3 separate regions of the Homo sapiens genome follow, and regions 2 and 3 are each linked to region 1. The links are contacts of gene promoters, found by promoter capture Hi-C in blood cells and fetal thymus (Javierre and others, 2016). All regions are on one chromosome and are shown on one strand. The core of a region is centred on a gene start or on the middle of the fragment in contact, and the rest is flanking DNA. Distances in the headings are between cores, read along the strand shown.

Region 1 (3,053 bases), core at 22-2,521:
TTCTAACCTTTTAAAAGAAGGGAGAGTATAAAGATAACTCTTTGAACTATTTTGTGTCTTCTGATTAAACCCCTTTATGGACCAAGGAATATTTGCTTTGAAAACCTGTGTTAGGTTCCTTGGAGTAAATCTACCATAGCACAGAAAAATGATGGATGAAAGGTAAAAAGAAGAAAACTGCCCACCACACACATCTATCTTGGTTACCTCATTATCGTTTGGTGATTATCAGGGTAATTACTTCTTGCGTACTCATTCAAAAAACATGTTTACCATTTAAATGACTGCCTTGCTTGGAGTATAAAGGATATTTAGACATTTAGATGAGATCATTTTAATATCTTACATCACCATAGTGCAATTATCAAAACCAGGGAATTAACATGGGTACAGTACTAATACAATAGATCTTTTTGGAATTTCATTGTCTTTTTTTCTCTTCCAGGATCTTAAGCAGCATCCAACATTGCATTTAATTGTATGTTTTCTTAATCCACTCCAATATGTGACACTTCCTCAGTCTTTCCCTGTCTTTCATGATGTAGACACTTTTAAAAGTACTCATCAAGTATTCTGTAGAATGTCCCTTAATTTGGGTCTAAATCATCTTAAGGTTATAAAATTCTATAGTGCAGGTTGGTCTCCCTATGGTTTGAATATATTATTATAGCTATCAAGAAGAGAATATGTAAATGCAATTATAATATTAATATTTATTATGCCACAGTTAACATTTCCTCACTTTTTCATTCAACAAGTATTTATTGAGTCTACCGTGTGCCAGGTGTTGTACTTAGTTTATTGGGATGCAACAGTGAACAAAACTGGTAATTATTTCTCCCATCGTGAAACAGATATATGGGTAAAGAAAAAGGAATAACAAAAATAAGTTAAATATATAGTGTTTATAAATGTTAATTTTACAAATAAATAAAATGTAAAATAAAATACATAATGTTGACTGATGAATGTTAGAGAATCAATTTTATAAAGCAGGGATAGAGTATATGAAATGTCTAGGAATCAGTATTGAAATTTTAGATAGGGTGGCCAGATAAGATTCACTAAGAAAGGAGCTTTCAAGAAAAGACCTAAAGAAAGTGAAGGGGCTCACCAGGCGCTTATCTGGAGGGAGAGTGTTCCAGTTGCAGGGAGCAGTGAGGTAGGGGCTTGCTCAACATGAGCAAGGACAAGGAGGAAGCCAGTGTGGCCAGAGAAGAGAAGGTGAGGTTCATGGGGGCCAGATCATGTCATGTCAATCATAGGAAGGACCTAGGAAAGGCTAGTGAATAATTTTGAATACAGAAGTGACACAATCTGACTTTCTTTTAAAAGGAACACTCTGCTATTGTGCTAAGGATAGACTGCAGAGGCGAGGCTGAAACATGGGGGACCAGTTAGGAGGCTGTTCCCATAATCCAGGTGAGACATGACAGTGGTTTGGTCCAAGGTGGTGGTAGTGAGGATGGCGAGGAGTGGTTGAATTTTGGATAAATTTTGAAGGGGAAGCAATAGTATTTACTGGTGTAAAAGGATGTGTAGGGTGTGAGAGAAGGTGAAACCTCTAGGAGAACACCAAGGTCAGAGTATGGGGAGAATGGAGAGCCAATTCAACACATTTCAATATAGATTTAATGATTTTAAGTTTGGTAAACAGAGCACATGTGAACTGCAGCTTAATATAGTCAAGACTGACCAAATGTAGTCATAATTGAGAGACATTTCATCTATTTTGAGGTGTTAATCTGTTACGTCACTAAAGAATTTAAGATAAGAGGTTCAAACCCTAGGTCACATTGAAATTAAGCAATACACCAGGTAAAATTAACATGTTCAATGTCTCAGTTGTATAGTATAACCCCCAAAGAGGAGTGGAACTGGAGGTGGGAGCATCCCTCTAAATTGCGTATCCAGCAAGAAATAGGTGTAAGCCCAAAACTAGAGTTGATGTGGAGGAGGGAGCCCTAAGCTGTTGGCCACCACCTGAGATCCTTAAGCTCCAGGTCATTACCCTGGTGAGCATGTTCTCCTTTGAGCTATGGGCTGAGCCTTCCACTGAAAATCTAAACCTTCCCCATGCCTTTATGTCCAAATTCTACTTATTTTTCAGGACCCAGAACTCCAGCTTCAGAGTCCAGTGCTGCTAAGCCATAGTTTCTTAGCACTTCCCCTGGTGAGTTAAAGTATGTCTTGCTACATCATTAGAATTTTTTAGGTTCTCTTGCATTAACTCTGTGACTCTGAGAAACCTCCAATCTCTTGATTTCTTGTTTCCTTATGCACAAAATTAGGAACCTTGAGCTTCCTTCATCTCTATTATTTCATGATTCTATGGTTTCTTTGAAAGGAGAAGAAGTCATTCCATTTACTCTTCTCCTACCATTTTGAACTAACTGCTATTACCATATTGACCACACTATATTGTAACCGCATAGTTTATTTTTGGCTGTGACTTCCTCATTAGACTGCAACTATCCTGAGATCAGGGACTAAGTTTAAGTTTAATTTAAATTTTAAATTTTAGCCATTGCACTGGAGCCTGGCACAGGGTAAGTGAGTAATAATTGCTTGTTCAATCAGTAAGCATTCTCACCCTTACTAAGAAAGTGTCTCTAACCAGAGAGCATTTGTGGAACGTTGGTTGTTTTCCTCACTATCTTCAACAAGAGGTTTTTAACCACAACTGCGCATTTGAATATCCTGGGGGGATATAAATGGTATTGCTGACCTGATTCCTCACCACACCCCAGTGAAATCAGAATTTCTGGGAGTGGAATCCTGGCATCAGTATTTTTAAAAGATCCTCAGATAACTCTAATTGCAGTCAGGGTTGAGAACCACAGTTTATATTCTTCTCATACCGGTAGCATCTCATCCTTTTCCTTTGTGCTTTGTTTTGGTTTTTGTTTCAGAGACAGAGTCTCGCTCTGTCACCCAGGCCTGAGTGCAGTGGCACAATCTGGGCTCACTGCAACTTCCGCCTCCCAGGTTCAAGCAATTCTCCTGCTTTAGCCTCCTGAGTAGCTGGGATTACAGGCGCGTGCCACCGTGCC
Region 2 (3,073 bases), core at 448-2,947, 620 kb before region 1:
CACCCACCTCACAGCTGCCTTGTGAGCAATAAATAACATGTAGATCTCAAATCACCATGTGAACTGTCAATGAACAGAAAGCGGTATCATTCATACGAAAAATAAACTTAGTGACAAAAACACTTAAGCATTTATATTTTTTAGAACTTTGTTCTAAAATTTGAGAATTTTAATACATTGTAATAAAAAATATATTTCATGAAAAAACAAGAGAATGAAAGATTTGATCCTATTCTATCCGTGTTTGAATTTTTATGTCTAGAGGGAAAGCCTAACCTAGAAATTGCAAACCAGTCCACAAGTATGTTGTTTCATCTGCAGAGTGTTAAGCAAGCTTTGTTTTGTTTGTTTTTTAAATAAATTGCCAACATTTAAAACTGTAAGATTTTCCCATTAAACAAACCCTGAGCCAGGTGTGGTGCACACCTGTAGTCCCAGCCACTTGGGAGGCTGAGGTGGGAGGATCGTTTGAGCCCAGGAGTTCAAGGCTGCAGTGAGCCATGATTGCACCACTGCACTCCAGCCTGGGTAAGAGAGTGAGACCCTGTCTCAAAAACAAAAACAAAAAACCCCAAACCAAAACAAAAACCCAGGATTTTCAGTTTCTTTCAGAAAAATAAAAGCAGAATTCATAGCACAACTGGTGGGGTTTTCTACAGCCCACTGTGCCCACTCCTGGGCTGTTTGCTACCCTGGGCCAGCCACAGCCAAGGTACCTCCTGGTGTCACTTTCCCACCAGGAGGTCTAGAGTTTCAAGTAGCTCCTTCCTTCCTTCTTTCCTTCCTTCCTTCCTTCTTTCCTTCCTTCCTTCTTTCCTTCTTTTTCTTTCTCTCTCTCTCTTTCTTCCTTTCTTTCTCTCCTTCCTTCCTTCCTCCTCCTCCTTTTCTTTCTTTCTTTCTTTCTTTTTCTTCCTTCTTCCTTTCTTTCCCTTCCTCCCTCCCTTCTTCTCTCTTTTTTTCCTTTCTTTCTTTTCTTTTCTTTCTTTCTTTCTCTCTCTCCTCTCTCTCTCACTCCTCTCTCTCTCTGTCTCCTCTCTCTTCTCTCTCTCTCCTCTCTCTCTCACTCCTGTCTCTCTCACTCCTCTCTCTCTCCTCTCTCTCTCTCCTCTCTCTTCTCTCTCTCCTGTCCTGTCTCTTCTCTCTTCTTTCTCTTTCCTCTGTCATCTCTCTCTCTCTCTCTACTCTCTCTTCTCTCTTCTCTCTCTCTCTCCTCTCTCTTCTCTCTTCTCTTCTCTCTCTCTCTCTCTCTCTCTCACCCAGGCTGAAGTGCAGTGGTGTGATCTCAGCTCGCCGCAACCTCCACCTCCCAGGTTCAACTGATTCTTATGCTTCAGCTGCCCAGGTAGCTGGGATTACAGGTGTGCACCACCACGCCCGGCTAATTTTTGTATTTTTAGTAGAGATGAGGTTTTGCCATGTTGGCCAGGCTGGTCTCTAACTCTTGGCCTCAACTGATTTGCCTGCCTTGGCCTCCCAAAGTGCTGGAATTACAGGCATGAGCTACTGTTCCTGGCCTCAAGTAGCATCTTCCTAAAAAACATTAAACTTGTAAGGAAACAGCCAGTGCTTGAGACCAAACATGGGGTGTGTGGTTGCTTGCCCCTCAGCTTTGTTTTACCCTCGGGTAAGGCTCCTTGGCCCAGATGTGGGGGAACACTGCCTGGGTAGAGGGAGACTTTTTCTTGTGAAATGAGCACAGGATCCTTGCGAGGACTAAGTCAGATGACATATGTAAACACCTTGCAAGAGTCAACATTCAGGAAATGGTAGTTCTGAGCAGGGGCATCCCAGACCACTCAGGACATCACAAGATTCTGACAAGTAATCTGTACCTCCAACTCCAAGGAGCAATGGTCAGAGTTGGCACCACATCTGTTTGCCAGGATCAGCTTGAGGAAGAGGGTACCCCGTGAGACCACAGTTTCTGAGGAAAAGGACACAGGCCATGGGACTGGAACCCAAAGTGGAAACAGACCTTAAGTGCTAACATGGATGCCTTTTGCCTTTGGTTACTCACTCCTGTGTAACGACGAGTGTTAGAATGTCCAGGGAAATGTGCTGAGCAGAACTGTCTGTTTTAACAAGGCCACATGTAGCAGAGTCGTTTACCTGAATTTGCTCCAAAGAAGACATTACCAGTGATAGCCTGGTGCATTGGCCCCAAGGGCTCACTTCCAGAACAAATACACAACCAACTTCCTACAGAGAGCCCATGGCCAGGGGCCTGTAAACCTAAGGAGGCCTGGGCTTCTTTGGTGTGGGAGGGAAGCAGCTGCCAGGCACTGCTATGGGCCTGACTGGCATTATCGTCAAGGAAATCAGCAGTCCCCAGAAGCCATGCCTAGAAGTGATCTCACTGCTTTCTTCTCCCTGCCAAGGATTCTACGCAAGTCTGTTTTATAGGAAGTTGCCTTTCTTTTGAGCAGAAGAGGACCTCCCCTGTGTTGAGCAAAACGTGAGTAAATGATTACTGGCAGCTGTAAAAGGATCTCATAAAGCATTTCTGTGATCCCCCCAAAAGGACCTGATTTTTATACATTTGCCTTTTTAGTTCACTTTGCAAGTACAAGGCTGTTAAAGTCACTTAATGATGCCAGGGGTAAAGTTCACTTTAGGAAATGGGGTAGCCAAGGGTTTGGGATTTCCCCACACTGTTTCCTTCTCCATCTCATGAGCTGACAAAAGCAACTCTCTGAGTCCCATACCCAGGAACTTGTACTGAGAAAAATAATCCATATTTATTTGCTATTATAAACTAGGGTGGTCTTCAGAAAGAAAACCAGGGCTTTTTCCCGGGTGGGCCCTGCCCTGGAGTGGGGCAAATGATGTGGCAGTGAGCCCCATACTGGGGATGTTGAGAGGAAAAGGGTGCATTTTTGATGGGAAACAAGAGGTCATCTCAGTTCGAACTGTAACCAAGGCGGAGATTCTGAGCCAGGGTAGGAGAGTCCACAGGCTGCCCAGAGTCAGGGAAGTCTGGGTTGGAGCACATCTTGGTGGTCACTTACGGTCAAGATCCCCAGGGATATCCCCTGCCTGCCCACACCCAAGGGAAGCTTTTTCTCTGTTGAAA
Region 3 (2,907 bases), core at 279-2,778, 650 kb before region 1:
CATGCAGAGAAAGCCAGCCCCTTCTGAATTAATTATGTGACTCAGACACTAGAGGATGATGAGTTTATTTCCTTTATTATGATTAATACTTTTTTTCCCAAAGAGTTTTTCAATTCTGAGATTTAAGTTTTATATATTGTAAATATCAAGATATCCTTTATGAAACAATATTCTTTCCAAAAGACAGCATAAATTTTGGAGTAAAACTGATGACTATGTTTCCTTTTTCTAGACTTTAAATATCTCCTTTTACTTAGGGCTGATTTTAAAATCATGTGGATTTAAAAATTTATGTGGAAGTGTTTTGTGACATTGAAAATAAGAGTCTGTGAAGAAAAGCTGATGCTGCCATTACGATCTCTTTGTATCTGGAATAATTAACTTTTGTTTATTACAAAAACCTTTTTTAAAAATAGGCAATAAATTAATTGTGCAGTTCATCTTGGATTTAGGAGAAGTTGATTCTATGGTTTTTTTTTTCTTTCTTTTTGTAGAGACAGAGTCTTTCTCTGTCACTGGACTGCAGTGGTGCAATCATAGCTCACTGCAGCCCCTAACTCCTGGGCTCAAGCAATCCTCCTGCCTCAGCCTCTCAAGTAGCTGGGATTACAGGTGTGAGCTACCATGCCCAACAAGAAGGTGATTCTTAAAAAAGAGAAAATAATACACAGAGAAAAAGTAAAACAGTTATTGTCTTCACATCAATAAAAAGGGAGACTGAGCATTTCCTAAGTGGAACTATTTATAGCTTATACCAAGCTTTAAACTATACTAGATATTTAGTTGATTATATTTCCCAACTCTAATTATTAAAATTAATTTAATCAGTGTGGGAAGAAAATTTAAGAGGGAAAAATAAATCTGCTTTATGATTTTCAAAGTTAGTTTTCTACACTGATCGATGTATGAATAAGTGCTCAGGTGCCAATTCATTTCCTGCCATGGAGATACTGTGCTTTCTGAGTTTTAGAGAGTTAAACTCCAGAAGGCAATAGTGGTTCTATCTGTTGTGCCTGCCTACCCAACATTCATTACCCCATTTTTCTGCTCACAGCCTTTTGATTTTCTTTAGGGGAGCCACCTCTCACTCCACTTTCAGTTCATGACGCTAGGAATAGTTATGTGACCTGGGCTTGGCCAATCAGGGCTTGGTTCAGAGATGGGTACATTACCAAAGCTAAGCCAATGTGAGCCTGACTGGGATTTTGCAGGCACTATTAAGAAAGAGATTCTTTGCCCTTTGGTATGCTGATGCTTGGAGCTTCTACCTGAGAGTGAAACTAACACAAAGAAAGCTGACAGATGGTAAATTCAACTCATACTGCAACTTGGATGTGCCAATAAAATGTAATTTCTCTAGTTTGTCCATAACCAGTCTGGTCCTTCACTAGTTAGGGTTTAAATCTTGATTCAATCCAATAATTCAATATCCCCATTGAGAACATGCTCGCTTTCTCAGATGGCTTCCTCTTTCTCCTTCCCCTCCTATAAAGATGCCATCTGGATGCATGGCCAATATTCAACAGGTACATGGCATTATGGCTGCCCTCATTGATAAAATACTAAAGTATGCATGGAGCAGTTGGTAAACAGGTTCTGCCCTGAGGTCCCTGCTCCTCATAATCCATCAACTAAAGGGTTAACTCTGGACATAGTAAGACATCTCCATTTATACTCCTCAGCGCCTGAGCCTGTAAGGATTTTTAAATGTTTTGATCGTCATCCAGGTAGGGTGTGCTGGGGTGGAGGTAGTATGGTGGTGTGTGTCTTTTCTGTGTCCTCATGGTGTTGAGAGGAAGGGAACTTTTGTCCTTGTACTGGTCCTTGAGCATAGCTGCCTTGTATGTGATTATTTTGAGACAACATCCACTTTTTGTCTGTCCTGGGTGCACTGCAAGCCTCTGATGTGGGGGTCTGTGGATGGGGAGCTTGTGTCCATCTGAGGTGATCTGAAGCAGTGCTCCCAAAGGTGTTTCCTGACTGGCTTAGCTCCTTCTCTGCTTTTCCTGCTGCTACAGACTCCGACTTCTGTCCATGACTTCCTATCAACCCTGGTCCCAGGGGTCTCCTCGGCAGCCCAAACCACTGAGTCACCTCACTACAATGATCACCTCTGGCAAGCTGGCTACAGGCTTTCTGCTATGTCTGGGTAGAATCTAGCCTTCCCAGGGACCTGACAGAGCTTGAAAAGTCCATAGCAGGGCCTGCTGCTACCCGACCAACACTGGGCTCTTCCTCTCATAATTCTGGAGGGGGCGTGGGGGAACGATCTCCCTCTGCCTTTGTGGTTAAGCTTTACTTTTCCAATACAATCTCTCCACTCAGGCCTCTTGTTTATTCTGCTACTTCTGTCCTCTGATAATCCCCACTTTCTCCTGGTCTAGACCTTTCGAATATAAAACCCTAAGGTTTAGTCTACCAAGCTCAGTTCTTGACCCTCTGAAGAGGAAGGTAATGGAATGTACAGGATATTTTCTCAAGGTAAGGGCTTGAATTACATGGCTATTGCCTTGCTACAAAATTTATTTTTGAATGCCAGAAGCTGAGTGTTATGTTTTCTTTCTCTTTGCATACTTTCTGGAAAGAACTTTCATTTCTTCCTAGGCAGATAAATGCCTAGAGTAGACTAAGTTCATATGCTTTGAAAGGCAAAAGAGAAAACTACATTGATAATTTCAAAACATTATGCCTATCATACATGACAACACCTTTAAAGCACCTGAAATCTAACTGGGCCTAAAGCCAGTCTACCCAGTTTTTAGCAAACCCATGGATCCCGTGGTTAGAGCTGGGTTTCAGTCACTTGCTACCCATAGTCCTGACTGACATGGTAATAACAGTATCCATTTCACATTATTTGAATAGCACTGGGCACAGCTCCACATGCAAATGGGTCTGATTAAATGC

The links. Contacts are between HindIII fragments. The CHiCAGO score rates a contact against its expected background, and 5 or more counts as called.
Region 2: a fragment that was not itself captured here is called in contact with the fragment with the promoter of KCNAB1-AS1 in region 1 in 3 of 17 cell types (naive CD4 T cells, monocytes and total CD4 T cells); the score reaches 6.1 in naive CD4 T cells.
Region 3: a contact is called between a fragment that was not itself captured here and the fragment with the promoter of KCNAB1-AS1 in region 1, in 1 of 17 cell types (non-activated CD4 T cells). The highest score is 5.4, in non-activated CD4 T cells.

What each region holds. Positions count from the first base shown.
Region 1 is chr3:156,445,154-156,448,206 of GRCh38, reverse strand. It overlaps KCNAB1-AS1 (KCNAB1 antisense RNA 1), which reads left to right and starts at 1,271. Exons shown (of 3, transcript NR_046618.2): 1 at 1,271-1,422; 2 at 2,111-2,173. The region is part of intron 2 of KCNAB1 (potassium voltage-gated channel subfamily A regulatory beta subunit 1); the gene reads right to left. The HindIII fragment of the contact is 8,289 bases long and covers 1-3,053 here.
Region 2 is chr3:157,069,976-157,073,048 of GRCh38, reverse strand. No RefSeq gene overlaps it. Among named protein-coding and RNA genes, the nearest start is that of LINC02029, 10 kb to the left of the region's middle. The HindIII fragment of the contact is 2,722 bases long and covers 337-3,058 here.
Region 3 is chr3:157,091,601-157,094,507 of GRCh38, reverse strand. All of the region lies in intron 3 of LINC00880 (long intergenic non-protein coding RNA 880), which reads left to right. The region is part of intron 1 of LINC00881 (long intergenic non-protein coding RNA 881); the gene reads right to left. Among named protein-coding and RNA genes, the nearest start is that of LINC00881, 3.2 kb to the right of the region's middle. The HindIII fragment of the contact is 1,534 bases long and covers 762-2,295 here.